Linked DNA regions of Homo sapiens: all the other regions are linked to region 3. Evidence: promoter capture Hi-C in 16 types of primary human blood cells and fetal thymus (Javierre and others, 2016). All regions are on one chromosome and are shown on one strand. The core of a region is centred on a gene start or on the middle of the fragment in contact, and the rest is flanking DNA. Distances in the headings are between cores, read along the strand shown. Region 1 overlaps DAW1 (dynein assembly factor with WD repeats 1). Region 2 overlaps SPHKAP (SPHK1 interactor, AKAP domain containing). Region 3 holds the start of PID1 (phosphotyrosine interaction domain containing 1). Region 4 overlaps DAW1 (dynein assembly factor with WD repeats 1). Region 5 overlaps DAW1 (dynein assembly factor with WD repeats 1).

Region 1 (2,700 bases), core at 78-2,577, 1.3 Mb after region 3:
TACAACAGTTTGAAACATTGTGAGAGTTACCAAAAAGTGACACAGGGACACAAAGTGAGCACAGGCTATCGGAAAAAATGGCACTGACAGACTTGCCCCAGGCAGGGTTATCACAAACCTTAAATTTGTTTAAAACATGTAATATCTGAGAAGTGCAATAAAGTGAATTGCAATTAAACGAGGTATGCCTGTATAAAGATATATGTAATATCATTTAGCCTGGACAAAGAAGAAAATTCTTTCATTTGCAAAAACATGGATGACCTAGAGGACAAAGTGAAATAAGCCCAACAAAGAAAGACAAATACCATATTATCTCACATATGGAATTTTTAAAAGTAAAACTCAGTAGAAACGGACTAGAAGAGTGGTTACCGGGGGTCAAGGAGTGGGGAAAATGGGGAGAGGTTTGTCAAAGGGTACAAACTTGCAGTTTCAAGATGAATTAGTTTCAGAGATCTAATGTACAGCTTGATGACTACAGTTAAAAATAAAGCATATTTGAAATTTGCTAGAATAGATCTTAAGTATTCTCTCCACAGGGGGGAAAAGGTAACTGTGTGAGGTGATGGATTTGTTAATTAGCAGTTTGACTGTGGTAATTATTTCATTTTGTGATATCAAAATATCACATTGTATACCTTGAATAATACAATTTTTATGTGTCAGTTATACCTCAATAAAGCTGAAAAAACTAATAAAGCTTAAGAGGTTTGCTTTTAGAAAAAAAAGAAGCAGCCAAATTTTGGCAAAGTTTTCTCCAATCTAAGTTCTTGGCTTCATCATATTGGAACCTCCTCTTCCCAACAGTCCCAACAAAGGTTTGGTTTATTTTTTTGTGTGTTTGTTTACTTAATTTTTTTTCCTTTATTAATTTTTTTTGAGGCAGGGTGTCACTCTGTTGCCCAAGCCAGAGTGCAGTGGTGTAATCACAACTCACTGTAGCCTCAACCTCCCAGGCTCAAGCAATCCTCCTACCTCAGCCTCCCAAGTAGCTGGAACTACAGGCCTGCACAATCAAACCTGGCTAATTTTTAAATTTTTTGTAGAGATGGGGTCTCACTATGCTTCCCAGGCTGGTCTTGAACTCCTGGGCTCAAGGAATCTTCTGACTTCGGCCTTGCAAAGTGCTGGGATTACAGGTGTGAGCCAGCACACCCGGCCTGTGTTTGTTTTATTTTTTTCTTCTTGAGGGTTAACATCTATAGATAACCCAAGAAGTAATTCTCACTTCAATTCATCCTACCTATACATCTGACTCTCCTCTCCCATATTAAATCTTTTCTACTTAAGAACACAGTGTAATGGAGCCAGCATCCCTGGTTTCTAAAACCAACATCACCACCTAATATCCAGATGCCCTTGGCAAATTACTTAACTTCTCAGGGACTCACTTTCCTCATTTTTAAATCAGGGCTTGTATCTACTTTGTAACAGTTGTTAGGAAGATTAAATGAGATGTTCTACGTAAAGTGGTTGGGCATTACTGGCACATGGTAAGCACTTAGCCATATTGGTATTATTCACATTATTAAGAAAATGAGTTCTAGAACACATTCTGGGGATCTGCTGTACACCACAGTACCTATAGTTGACAATGAAGTATTATACACCTTGAAATATGCTCAAAGGATAGAGCTCATTTAAAGAGCTTGTACCAGGAAACAACAAAAACCACAAAACAACACAAGGAAATGGTTGAAGATGATGAGTATATTTAGTACCTTGATTTTGATGATGGCATCATCTATGTTCAAACTCATGAAGATGTATACATTAAATATATGCAATATTTTATATATTGATTACATATCAATGAAGCTCTTTTTAAAAAATGATTTCATAAGATTTTCAGGCATTCTCTTGCTTCAGATTCAGGCCTTATTAGTGCTTGTACTTTTAACATTAATTTTAATATGCATTTGGGTACTTTTACACAAACCAAGCTTTTAAAAAACATTTTAAAATATTTCAGCAGTATTCAGGTTGGTATTTGATCATTTTCTCTCATACTTCAATCGTTTTCCACCCAGATTTTATTTATTTATTTATTTATTTAGTGTATGTGTGAGATGGAGTCTCCCTCTGTCACCCAGCCTGGAGTGTAGTGGCGTGATCTCGGCTCACTGCAACCTCCACCTCCTGGGTTCATGCGATTCTCCTGCCCCAGCCTCCCGAGTAGCTGGGACTACAGGCCCCCACCACCACGCCCGCCTGATTTTTTTTTTCTGTATTTTTGGTAGAGATGGGGCTTCACCCTGTTGGCCAGGCTGGTCTCAAACTCCTGACCTCAAGTGATCCACCTGCCTCTGCCTCCCAAGGCACTGGGATTACAGGTGTGAGCCACGGCGCCCGGCCCCACCCAGATTTTTAAATGCAATAGTCTGAATATTCTGTTTAACTTTTCCTTAGAAATAAACCTGCCAACATTTTTCTCAATGTATCAATACAGAAGATATTTGCCATTAAATGAGATCCGCATTATTTCCCTTACTTCACCCTAAAAACATACATCATAAATACACATGTACAAGGAATTTCCTCCAAACACTTTATTCAACAGAAATTATAACAATAGGCTTCAAAGTAAAATCCAGGAGACACGTTGTTAAGTTGTTCTGGTCTCCTTTTTCAGTATCATAATGCTTTTAAAAAACAAACACAACTGAAATAACTGGTGGCATTAGCCAAACATTATGC
Region 2 (2,700 bases), core at 31-2,530, 1.2 Mb after region 3:
CTGAGCTCGCTTAAGCTACTGCTTGCATCGTAAAGGCCATTTTCCTAAAAGTCATTGCCTAAAACAAGTGAAGTTCAAGGGAGTAAATTAGATGAAGAACACAGAAATCAGGATATACATCGTTTTTACCAACAGAGACCAAAAAAAAAAAAAAAAAAAAAGAATAACAACAGTATTCAGCATGCAGAAAATGTTTTGAAACACGGATTTTTATTGTTTTAGTTTACTTTGAAATATTTAATGAACAAACAAAAATTGCATATATTCAGGGTATACACCTTGATTTGACCTATGTATACATTGTGTACTGATTACTGTAATCTAATTATCACAGCCATCACCACCCATAATTACCGTATGTGTGTGTGTGTGTAGGGGGTGGGATGAAGGCAGTTAAAATCTGCTCTTTATCAAAATTCAAGTAAACAATATAGTACAATTAAGTATAGTCACCATGCTGTACATTAGATCTCCAGAACTGATTCATCTTAAAACTGAAAGTTTATTCCCTTTGACCAATTTCTCCCCATTTTTCTCATCCCCCAGCCCCATGCAATCACCATTCTACTCTCTGCTTCTGTGAGTTTGGCTTTTTTAGATTTCACGTATAAATGAGTTAATACAGTACTTATCTTTTCGTGCCTGGCTTATTTCATCTAGCATAATGTCCTCCAGATTCTATTTTTTTTCTTTTTTTTATTATTATTATACTTTAAGTTTTAGGGTACGTGTGCACAATGTGCAGGTTTGTTACATATGTATATATGTGCCATGCTGGTGTGCTGCACCCATTAACTCGTCATTTAGCATTAGGTATATCTCCTAATGCTATCCCTCCCCGCTCCCCCAATCCCGCAACAGTCCCCGCTGTGTGATGTTCCCCTTCGTGTGTCCATGTGTTCTCATTGTTCAATTCCCACCTATGAGTGAGAACATGTGGTGTTTGGTTTTTTGTCCTTGCGATAGTTTGCTGAGAATGATGGTTTCCAGCTTCATCCATGTCCCTACAAAGGACATGAACTCTTCATTTTTTATGGCTGCATAGTATTCCATGGTGTACATGTGCCACATTTTCTTAATCCAGTCTATCATTGTTGGACATTTGTGTTGGTTCCAAGTCTTTGCTATAGTGAATAGTGCTGCAATAAACATACGTGTGCATGTGTCTTTATAGCAGCATGATTTATAATCCTTTGGGTATATACCCAGTAATGGGATGGCTGGGTCAAATGGTATTTCTAGTTCTAGATCCCTGAGGAATCGCCACACTGCCTTCCACAATGGTTGAACTAGTTTACAGTCCCACCAACAGTGTAAAAGTGTTCCTATTTCTCCACATCCTCTCCAGCACCTGTTGTTTCCTGACTTTTTAATGATTGCCATTCTAACTGGTGTGAGATGGTATCTCATCGTGGTTTTGATTTGCATTTCTCTGATGGCCAGTGATGATGAGCATTTTTTCATGTGTTTTTTGGCTGCATAAATGTCTTCTTTTGAGAAGTGTCTGTTCATATCCTTTGCCCACTTTTTGATGGGGTTGTTTGTTATTTTCTTGTAAATTTGTTTGAGTTCATTGTAGATTTTGGATATTAGCCCTTTGTCAGATAAGTAGGTTGCCAAAATTTTCTCCCATTCTGTAGATTGCCTGTTCACTCTCCAGATTCTATTTTAGTAACTAATTAGCATCATTGTCAAAGGAAACAAATATGAAAAACTAGTTGTTATCCTACTCACTGTAATAGATGTTCCCTCTTGTATTTTGTTTTGTTTTTCTCCAATTACTTTTTCTATGTATTTATTCATTATGTGTCAACTATAGTTTGCAGAATTCCATTTTTCAAAGGCTTGAATTTAATGGTCATTTTTTTTGAAAAGTGAGTTACCTCTCAACACTTGGCAGTCTGTTAGAAGATTTAAATTAATGAGTTCCTAAAGCATCCAATCTATAGGGATAGTAATTCAGATACATGCCTTGGGCTAAAGTTTTCATATGCAGACCTGGAGCAGGCCAAATAGAGTGGTTCTTAGAGTACCCGTGAAACTAAGAACCACTTGATGTCTTTTATTAATATAGATATTCAATCTGGATAATTCCGTTAAAAAAAGAAGCACCTCTCCTGCATTTGCAACTATATTTTAGGACTAAATCCTCTAAATATTTTTCTACTTCCCTATGTAGAGTCACTCAAGTTGTGCCTTTAGTCATTGCTTTGAGTTGTTGGGATTTTTAATAAATTTTACCTATACCAATGAGATTGCAGCATGCTTAATTATTAAAGATGTACAAAGTGTTTGCTCAATTATACCTGAGGCTTCTTGGAGAGGTTAAGTTTGGAGTTATTTAGTAGTTTGGTTGTCAAACATATGAGAGATGAATGTTAGATGTTTGGTTTAGATAAACTATTTGTATTTTTAAATTAAGTTCACTATCACTTATTCACCATGATTCTAAGTATATAAATTATCTTTTATCTATTCTAAAATAATTGAGCTGTTCAGATTACAAACATGACTTTCTACCTTTTCTTTTTTCATATTTTCTCTGTGCAAATGTGTATGACTTTCAGAAAAGGGAGAAAGCAACCACTAGATGTTATTATGTTTTATTACTTTAAAGGTGAAAAAAGTCTTTAATGGAAGCTTAGTGGAAGAGTTAAAACATAAAATTCTACAAAATTGTAAAGCATGCAATATTATGTT
Region 3 (2,702 bases), core at 44-2,543:
TGTTCTCTCTGCTCCTCTCTTTGGTCATTCTATGTCCTGAGTTCTTCCCACCATGTTCTCCTCTCCCACTCTTCATCAGCTCGAGAATCAGCTTAGTATCCCTGACTTGCCAAGTGCCTTTAACCCCCAGCCCTAGACGGATGCTCTTTCCACTGGGTTTCCATGGTCAGTTAGAGGCGCAGGGCCACATCTCCTGCCCTGAAGTCATCTGACTGTGCACTCTCTAAGCCACTCACTGGCTGTGTGACCTGGACAAGTGACCTAAACCTTATAAGCCTCATTTGTTTGATCCACATGGTGAAAATATTAATAGTTATTTTGCCGAGTTGTCAAGAGAATGGGAAGGGCTGGCCTGTTTAGGACAGGAAGTCATCTCATGGTGGCCGGCACTAGCCGGGGAGCCTCCAGGCCTGCGAGCCCAGAGCGGCTTTCCCTTGGGTTCTGAGAGCCTCCTGCTGCACCTGGCAGATCTCAGGATGAGTTAGTGATTCGGGAGTCTGCATGGCCCTCCTCACCCCTGTATAGGTTAGGAGTCGAGTCCTCTCCCCATCATGAAGCATGGCCTCTTCGTGGCCAATCCCTCTCATCTCTCAGGTCTTACTCCAGGCATTCCCCAGGGCCCTTGTCTAAGAAGCTCTCCTCTCCCCTTCTTCCCACATCTGCCCTGTTTTATCACCACCCGATATAGCACCGGCTTGTTGATGTGTTTGCTCAGTCACGACTCTCTCTCCAAAGCAGAAGGTAAGCTCCAGAGAGAAGGAACATTCTCTTGTCTTCTATTCTGCGTCGCTGCATCCTCAGAACCCAGCATAGGGGCTGGAGCCTAATAGATGCTCAGTTAACTGGAGTGGGAAGAATGAATGGAAGTGTCTCCCTAGCACAGCGCCAGGCACAGCACAGGCACTTCAGAGATGCCTGTTATATGGAAACCCGGGACCCCCGGGGCTACGGTTTCCTTATTTTAGGAATTTCCCCCACCCCCGCCACCCCCGACATCCCCGCTGCCCCCACCACCCCCGGCTCCAGGCCCTTCCCCCCTCAGCCAGTCTGTCCCTTTTCCCAGACCCCAACCCAATGGGGGCTTCCTGCAGGGAAGGGCCGGCTGTTCTAGCCTCCCCATTCACCCCTCACTAGGATTTAGAGTCGGCCGCGCTGCACTCCCGCCCCGCGCGGCCCCTGGGCGCCCGCCCCGGGCATGCTCAGAGCGCGCAGGTCCGGGCGGCGGCGGCGGGGGAGGAGGGAGCGGCCGCCCCCGCCGCCGCCGCGCGCTCGCCGGGCCCGGGCGGAGCTGCGCAGTCCTCTCGCAGCTGCGCCAGGACAGCCGGCGCGCGGCCGTGCCCACAAGTTGCCGGCAGCTGAGCGCCGCGCCTCCTCCTGCTCGCAGCCCCCTACGCCCACCCGGCGGCGGTGGCCAGCGCCAGGACGCACATCCCGCGGACACCGACCCCAGATGTAAAGCGGGACCCCAGCCCCTCGCCCCCCGGCGCGATCGACAGTCTCGCCAGCGTCTCCTCTGCCAAAACCCAGGGCTGGAAGATGTGGCAGCCGGCCACGGAGCGCCTGCAGGTAAGGGGCACCCGGGAGCCGGGGGCCAGCCTGGAGGAGGAGGTGCCCGGGCAGAGGAACCTAGTTTTTGCTTCTGCCTACTTTAGGGGATTTGCCCAAAACCATCTTGTAAGACGCATCGATGGCAACATGATGCTGTCGGTTTACCCAGCGCCAGGAACCCGGCAGGGGTATGGGGATGATGAAATTGATAAACGCACGGGTTCAGGCGTTACAACTTTTGGCTTGGAGGTGCTTGTGTGCGTGTTGGTTGGTACATATAAGGTTGGACTTTCTGACTGGCAATTTAGATTGCATTCCACTGACACAATGCAGTGGTCTGGGGTTAGGATTTTTGAAGCCAGATTTTTTTTTTTTTTTTTTTTTTTTTGTGGTCACCAGGAAAGACAGAACAAGTGATATGTGAAAGCATCCATTTGCCAATATAATGTGGAAATATCAAGCTTGGTTTGGCTTGGTCATGGTATGCTACTTATTTTATTTTTCCCTATTCATTGGTTCTCTCCCTTTATCTTCCTTAAACCCAAGCTCCTTCAGATATTTAAGAATCAAAAGTAGGTTCAGCCAGGAATATTTATGTCCTGGGTTATCCCATCAAAAGTTTTTTACTGCTGTCTCCTGAAATGCCAGACTGCCTTGAATTGGATTCTGGAAGCTGGGGATTTGCGGGAGGCGATTGAAGAGAAAGAGGGACCTTTCCCAGAAGAACTCCTTCAGTGACACGTTGGGCCTTGGGATTGCCCTGGTTGCAAGGTTTGAGGACTGCCTTTTGCTGGCAAATATTGTCAAGAGTCACGGCAGCTACTCTGCCAGATAAAATCCACTGAATCCTGCAGTTAAACTTTTGGCAAGCTAGGAGCCACATTGTTTCGTAGTAAACTTTGAAGACGTGTTTAACTGGTAAAATACAGCACCATTGGAGGCTGAGTGCATCTGAAGACTTAGGACAATGAGGCCAGGCCCTGGCTAGGTTGGAGGCTTCTCAATGAACATTTACAGCCCCAAGCACAGTTTCTCAGATGCAGGGAGAGGCTAACCTTTGTCTAGGAGTCCTCATACAGAGGAACAACCCGCAGAGGGCATTGCATTTAGCAGAAACAGATGCCCCACAGCTCCTTTCCAAAGCTCCCTGGGCC
Region 4 (2,700 bases), core at 21-2,520, 1.4 Mb after region 3:
GAATTTTTAGGATGAGTGTAAATAAATTTTACTTCTAAAATAAGCAGCTTGTTTTTGTTCCTGTTTTAAGGTGTACATAAATAAGCAGAATACAGGACCCTTTCCCATCTCCAGGTACTTTCCTTATCCTCAAGACATATTTCCAAGCATTTCACAGTCTGTTCTAGGTATCTTGTTCCTAAGTTCCAGGGGTGGGTGTGGGTGCTAGCACTTGAACACTGCTGGCAGATCGGCTGTCACCGACTATTCACAAAAGCTGTCGCCACTGTGGCTTGCTTTTCCTCCCTCCACCCCTGTATGTTCTTGTTTGCTCTTTCTGGTTCACAGCAGGTATCTTTTTTTCCAGTGAATATTGAGGTTAAAAGACCTGTCACTCTTTGTTATCAATTTCCTCTCTTCATCTACTAATAGTTATTAGCACATTCTTTTTATGTCTCTGTTCAATTCAAAAAGTACTGAGCTATATTTCCCTACTGACAGTTACAGGAGAGGTGGTTATATTTTGTTTCCTGCTTTAGCCTTTTCTCTCTTTGACCCTCAAAAGTCTCTATTATTTTTATACTACTACTGCATTGGTAAAGTGAGTACCTTCTATTTGTGGATTCTCTTTTGGTATTATCCACTTAAGAGTAACTTCAAAGTACAACAAAGTTAGTGAGTTAAATATCTAAAGAATCATTCTACCTAATGAAGGCCAGAAATGGAGGGAAAGGTGTGATCCCCATTAACAGACCAAAACATAACTTGGGGATTTGTTAAAATCAGATCAATTTTTCCTTATTTAAATCTTTGATTAAAAAGATTTAAGGTATTACTAATCATTAGGAGCAGCAGCCTGTTTATTTTTAAGAGCTATCATCTGTTCTTATGGAATGCCAATTATTGCACTAATTGTTATCAGATATGTCTCAGAATTGGTCAAGGACAAGGGCTTCCCAATAGTGAAAGCTGTTTCGAGTATCAGACTATTTAGGCAAATTTGAGCTCTAATGATATACAGAAAACAATCAGCCTAAATATTTAAATATTTCACATAGTAGTTTAAAAATTATTTTAAAAACTGTTTTCATAACTTAATTGACCCTCATTGAGTCAGTACTTTAAAGAAAAGCCAATTAAAAAGTAAGATTGGTTATTATATTTATAAATTTATCATATTACGTGTCTACTTAGTCAATGTAGGATACAGTTCTTTACAGAATCTGCAAGATATTAACTAGAGTAATTTTTAAATTGTATTGGTACCACCATATAAATATAGGCAGACTAAAAACATGGGGTAGAATTTGAAAATTAATTATAAAAGTAGCCCCACTACTTTTATAATAGAATCCTAAAAAGAAACAGCAACATAAAATATAATAATAAGGCCAGGTGCAGTGGGTCCCGCCTGTAATCCCAGCACTTTGGGAGGCCGAGGCGGGTGGATCACGAGGTCAAGAGATTGAGACCATCCTGGCTAATACAGTGAAACCCCATCTCTACTAAAAATACAAAAAATTAGCGGGGCGTGGTGGCGGGCGCCCGTAGTCCCAGCTACTCGGGAGGCTGAGGCAGGAGAATGGCATGAACCCAGGAGGCGGAGCTTGCAGTGAGCCAAGATTGTGCCACTGCACTCCAGCCTGGGTGACAGAGTGAGACTCCATCTCAAAGAAAATAATATATATATATACATAAAATAATAATAAATTGTTAAATATACTCACTATTTCTGCTGTATGACCCCTGAAGGTATGGTAACATTTTCCTGTTTCCACACTCCAGAGTTTACAAGTTTTATCAAAGGACCCAGTGGCGATTTTGTCACTAAGATTTAAAAGAAATGTAGATTATTTAAAAAAAGACACATTATATAATAAACTGAACTAAGATGAGATATTAATACATGAGTAAAAAATTTACTTCACTTCTAAAGCTATAAGCAATCTTAAATTTGTTTCAGTGGATAATAAAATAAAAGTCTAATTTTTGAGTGGTATCGATTTACACATTTAATTTTAAAGGTTTTATATTAAAGTTATAGGTATATTTGTTTGGGATTATAATAATTTTTAAAATGAGTTTAATGAATGTAGCAAAAGGTTTAGTTTAGAAAATTACTTACAAATTAAAATAAATAATGTATAGTATGAACTGTGTAAACATAGAAAAATTATGTTAATAAGTATATGGAAAAGAATAACATTGAATATAAAAGAGAAATGAAAAAAGATAAATCCCATTAAAAATATGGTTAATAAGGTTTTGAGAATTTAGACGGTGCTTGTCCTCTTAAGGAAATAATGCCTATATTATTCCAGTTGTAAGAGGGTTTAGAAAGGAAATACAAAGACTTCAGTCACTTTCAACTAAGAGGCTTCTCATATTGACTGCGGGGCAGAGCTAACATCAACAACCAACAAGCAAGAGTAGATTACCCTGTTTGGCCTTTGATCTTGGAACTAAAACCTTTCTTTTAACCCTGGCTTACAACTGTCTTTTACACCAGCTCTTCAAGATGTTCACCCAATTGGATTATCATTTACAGTACAAGCTCAATTTCCCAAAGTGTAAGAGATCTCACAACCCAACACATATATCCTAAAGCAGACTAGAAATGTATATTTATCCAAACTAACATTGATGCCTTGATTCTCCCCCTTGTCCCAGGACACCCATATTTCTATAGTGTCTAGGTGGTCTCTCAGACTAAAGCAAAGT
Region 5 (2,700 bases), core at 110-2,609, 1.4 Mb after region 3:
AATGATAGGGATCGACATATTTTCTTCTTCATTTTGTTAGAGACAGAGTCTTGCTCTGTTACCCAGGCTGCAGTGCAGTTGTACAATCATCACTCACTGTAGTCTCGAACTCCTAGGAACCCATGCCATTCTTCTGCCTCATTTTCTTGAGTAGCTAGGACTATAGGCCCATGCCGCTATGCCCAGCTAATTTTTTAATTTTTTGTAGAAACAAGATTTCACTATGTTTCTCAGGCTGGTCTTCAACTCCTGGGCTCAAGCCATCCTCCTGCCTCAGCCTCTCAAAGTGCTGGGATTAAAGGCAGGCACCACCATGCCCAGTTGATCAACATTATCAGAATATAAACCCTTGAAGATCAAGATCCCTAAAAAGCTATTTGAAAATTCAAGAAAGATACATACTTTAAACATACAAGTTCTGTATCAATGCAAGGTGTCACTATCATCAAGGGAGTGTTTCTTTCTGTACTATAATTTTAGATTTTTTGCATTATATATGAGGGTATTTACTATGTGCTATTTATTATTGAGGAAATAAATGCTTGAGTAAATAAATGATGTACACAATGAATAAGCAATAAAATAATAATCTGTAACTCAGAGAAAGGTTGGAAAGAATTAGCACTTGGCAGTCCACAGAGTATGATCTAATACCCTAAGGAAATGCATTTTTAACATTTTAGCAAATAAGTTAACAAAAGTCTGCTTTCTTTATTCACTACTTGTTTGTAATAAAGTAAAAAGGTTCGAAGTCTTCAAGCTGACTACTAAAAATTGGTGGGGATGCTGTACAAATGGATCTGGAGAATACACTACAAAATTGAAACATGTACGTTTGACTGCTTCGCTGTGACAAAACCTCTAGGCCAGGGGTCCCCCGACCCCACTGGGCCCTGGACCAGTACCAGTCTGTGGCCGTTAGGGCCCAGGCCACACAGCAGGAGGTGAGTGGCGGGCAAGTGAGCATTACTGCCTGAGCTCATTCAGCCTCCTGTCAGATCAGCAGCAGCAGCATTAGATTTCCATAGCAGCAGGAACCCTATGGTGAACTGTGCATACAAGGGATCTAGGCTGCACACTCTTTACGCAAATCTAACTAATGCCTGATGATCACAGGTGGAACAGTTTCATCCCAAAACCATCCCCCTGGTCTGTGGAAAAATTGTCTTCCATGAAACCAGTCCCTGGTGCCAAAAAGGTTGTGTAACATTGATCTAGGCAATATGTTCATCCCTCTCATGATTACTGAGCTCCAATATGAGCAAAAGGCTGTGATATGTGCCATGAAGAATAAAAGCAGAAAACAAAGAGTCCGGGAGCAGTGGCTCACGCCTATAATCCCAGCACTTTTGGAGGCCAAGGCAAGTGCCTCACTTGAGTTCAGAAGTTTGAGACCAGCCTGGCCAACATGGTAAAACCACATATCTACTAAAAATACTAAAATTAGTTGGGTGTGATGGCACATGCCTGTAATCTCAGCTACTCGGGAGACAGAGGCAGAGGTTGCAGTAAGCCAAGATTGTGCCACTGTACTCCAGCCTGGCTGACAGAGCAAAACTATGTCTCAAAAATAAAAATAAATAAACAAAGATGCTGCCAGAAATACATGCTTTTCTTCAGTGACTGTTTCCCACAGTATCTTAATAATCTTGATTTTCCCTTGATTGTGCATTATTCAATAAATATAATTCCCAAAACACTTAGGTAAGAAGCCTCTATTCCTCAAATTTTTCAGTATATTAAAAGGGCATGCTTCAAATGATATTAGTATTCTTTACTTAGATTATATATTCAATCAACAGAAACCTTTAAAATGCTCAGAATGTTAACTAGTTTAGTTAATGTTGACTTAATTCCTTCTCCTGGTCTGAGAACTATGGACTTCACACAATAAATGAAATACAAAAATTGTCATAACTGAGTTAGCTGAAAAGCACATAGTCAACACCCACTCTCCCCAAAGCAAAGAGCTTATGAATTAATAAATGTGACCAAGATGAAAAGGAATGTCCCATGTTTGGTTAGCCATGTCACTGGCATGTACATTTAGCCTTTGGGAATGTAGGTAGGGAGAGGGATAATTCAGTAGATAGCAGCAAGACAATGCCCCTGACCTATACGTTATTCAAAAGAAAGTGGGAGGGCGAAAATTAGAGGATTAGGAGGCAAAACAAAACTGCTCTATATGCAGAAGGGATAAAGGTAGCACGGGAATGATTCAGTGGAATAATTTTTCCTATCTGATAATGCTATTATTGAAACACCCACCTGCTATTCAGTAGTATCTTGGAAACTTGCATATGATTTGGCTCACCAAAGACTGGAATTCAGAAATTAAATGTCAAGCATGCTAAGTAATATGACCTCATTATAAGATAAGCATTAAGGCAATAGTCGCAAACATGAGTCAAGAGAATTACGTGAGCCTAAGAATCCTAGGCTTGGCCGGGCACAGTGGCTCACGCCTGTCATCCCAGCACTTTGGGAGGCCAAGGCGGGTGGATCACGAGGTCAGGAGATCAAGACCATCCTGGCTAACACGGTGAAACCCCGTCTCTACTAAAAATACAAAAAAATTAATTAGCCTGGCGTACTGGCGGGCGCCTGTAGTCCCAGCTACTCAGGAGGCTGAGGCAGGAGAATGGCATGAACCCAGGAGGCGGAGCTTGCAGTGAGCCAAGATCATGCCACTGCACTACA

Evidence for each region. Contacts are between HindIII fragments. The CHiCAGO score rates a contact against its expected background, and 5 or more counts as called.
Region 1: a fragment that was not itself captured here is called in contact with the fragment with the promoter of PID1 in region 3 in 2 of 17 cell types (M2 macrophages and endothelial precursors); the score reaches 8.9 in M2 macrophages.
Region 2: a fragment that was not itself captured here is called in contact with the fragment with the promoter of PID1 in region 3 in 1 of 17 cell types (endothelial precursors); the score reaches 9.6 in endothelial precursors.
Region 4: a fragment that was not itself captured here is called in contact with the fragment with the promoter of PID1 in region 3 in 5 of 17 cell types (M2 macrophages, endothelial precursors, M0 macrophages and 2 more); the score reaches 17.8 in M2 macrophages.
Region 5: a contact is called between a fragment that was not itself captured here and the fragment with the promoter of PID1 in region 3, in 1 of 17 cell types (M2 macrophages). The highest score is 17.4, in M2 macrophages.

Annotation. Positions count from the first base shown.
Region 1 is chr2:227,924,182-227,926,881 of GRCh38, reverse strand. DAW1 (dynein assembly factor with WD repeats 1) reads right to left here. Exons shown (of 13, transcript NM_178821.3): 13 at 2,538-2,700. Among named protein-coding and RNA genes, the nearest start is that of DAW1, 54 kb to the right of the region's middle. The HindIII fragment of the contact is 1,243 bases long and covers 706-1,948 here.
Region 2 is chr2:228,043,753-228,046,452 of GRCh38, reverse strand. The region is part of intron 3 of SPHKAP (SPHK1 interactor, AKAP domain containing); the gene reads left to right. Among named protein-coding and RNA genes, the nearest start is that of SPHKAP, 140 kb to the left of the region's middle. The HindIII fragment of the contact is 2,724 bases long and covers 1-2,642 here.
Region 3 is chr2:229,269,878-229,272,579 of GRCh38, reverse strand. PID1 (phosphotyrosine interaction domain containing 1) reads left to right here and starts at 1,293. Exons shown (of 3, transcript NM_001100818.2): 1 at 1,293-1,566. The coding sequence starts at 1,537. The HindIII fragment of the contact is 3,085 bases long and covers 1-2,011 here.
Region 4 is chr2:227,897,288-227,899,987 of GRCh38, reverse strand. It overlaps DAW1 (dynein assembly factor with WD repeats 1), which reads right to left. Exons shown (of 13, transcript NM_178821.3): 6 at 1,707-1,806. Among named protein-coding and RNA genes, the nearest start is that of DAW1, 27 kb to the right of the region's middle. The HindIII fragment of the contact is 2,988 bases long and covers 1-2,700 here.
Region 5 is chr2:227,876,063-227,878,762 of GRCh38, reverse strand. All of the region lies in intron 1 of DAW1 (dynein assembly factor with WD repeats 1), which reads right to left. Among named protein-coding and RNA genes, the nearest start is that of DAW1, 5.8 kb to the right of the region's middle. The HindIII fragment of the contact is 4,250 bases long and covers 1-2,700 here.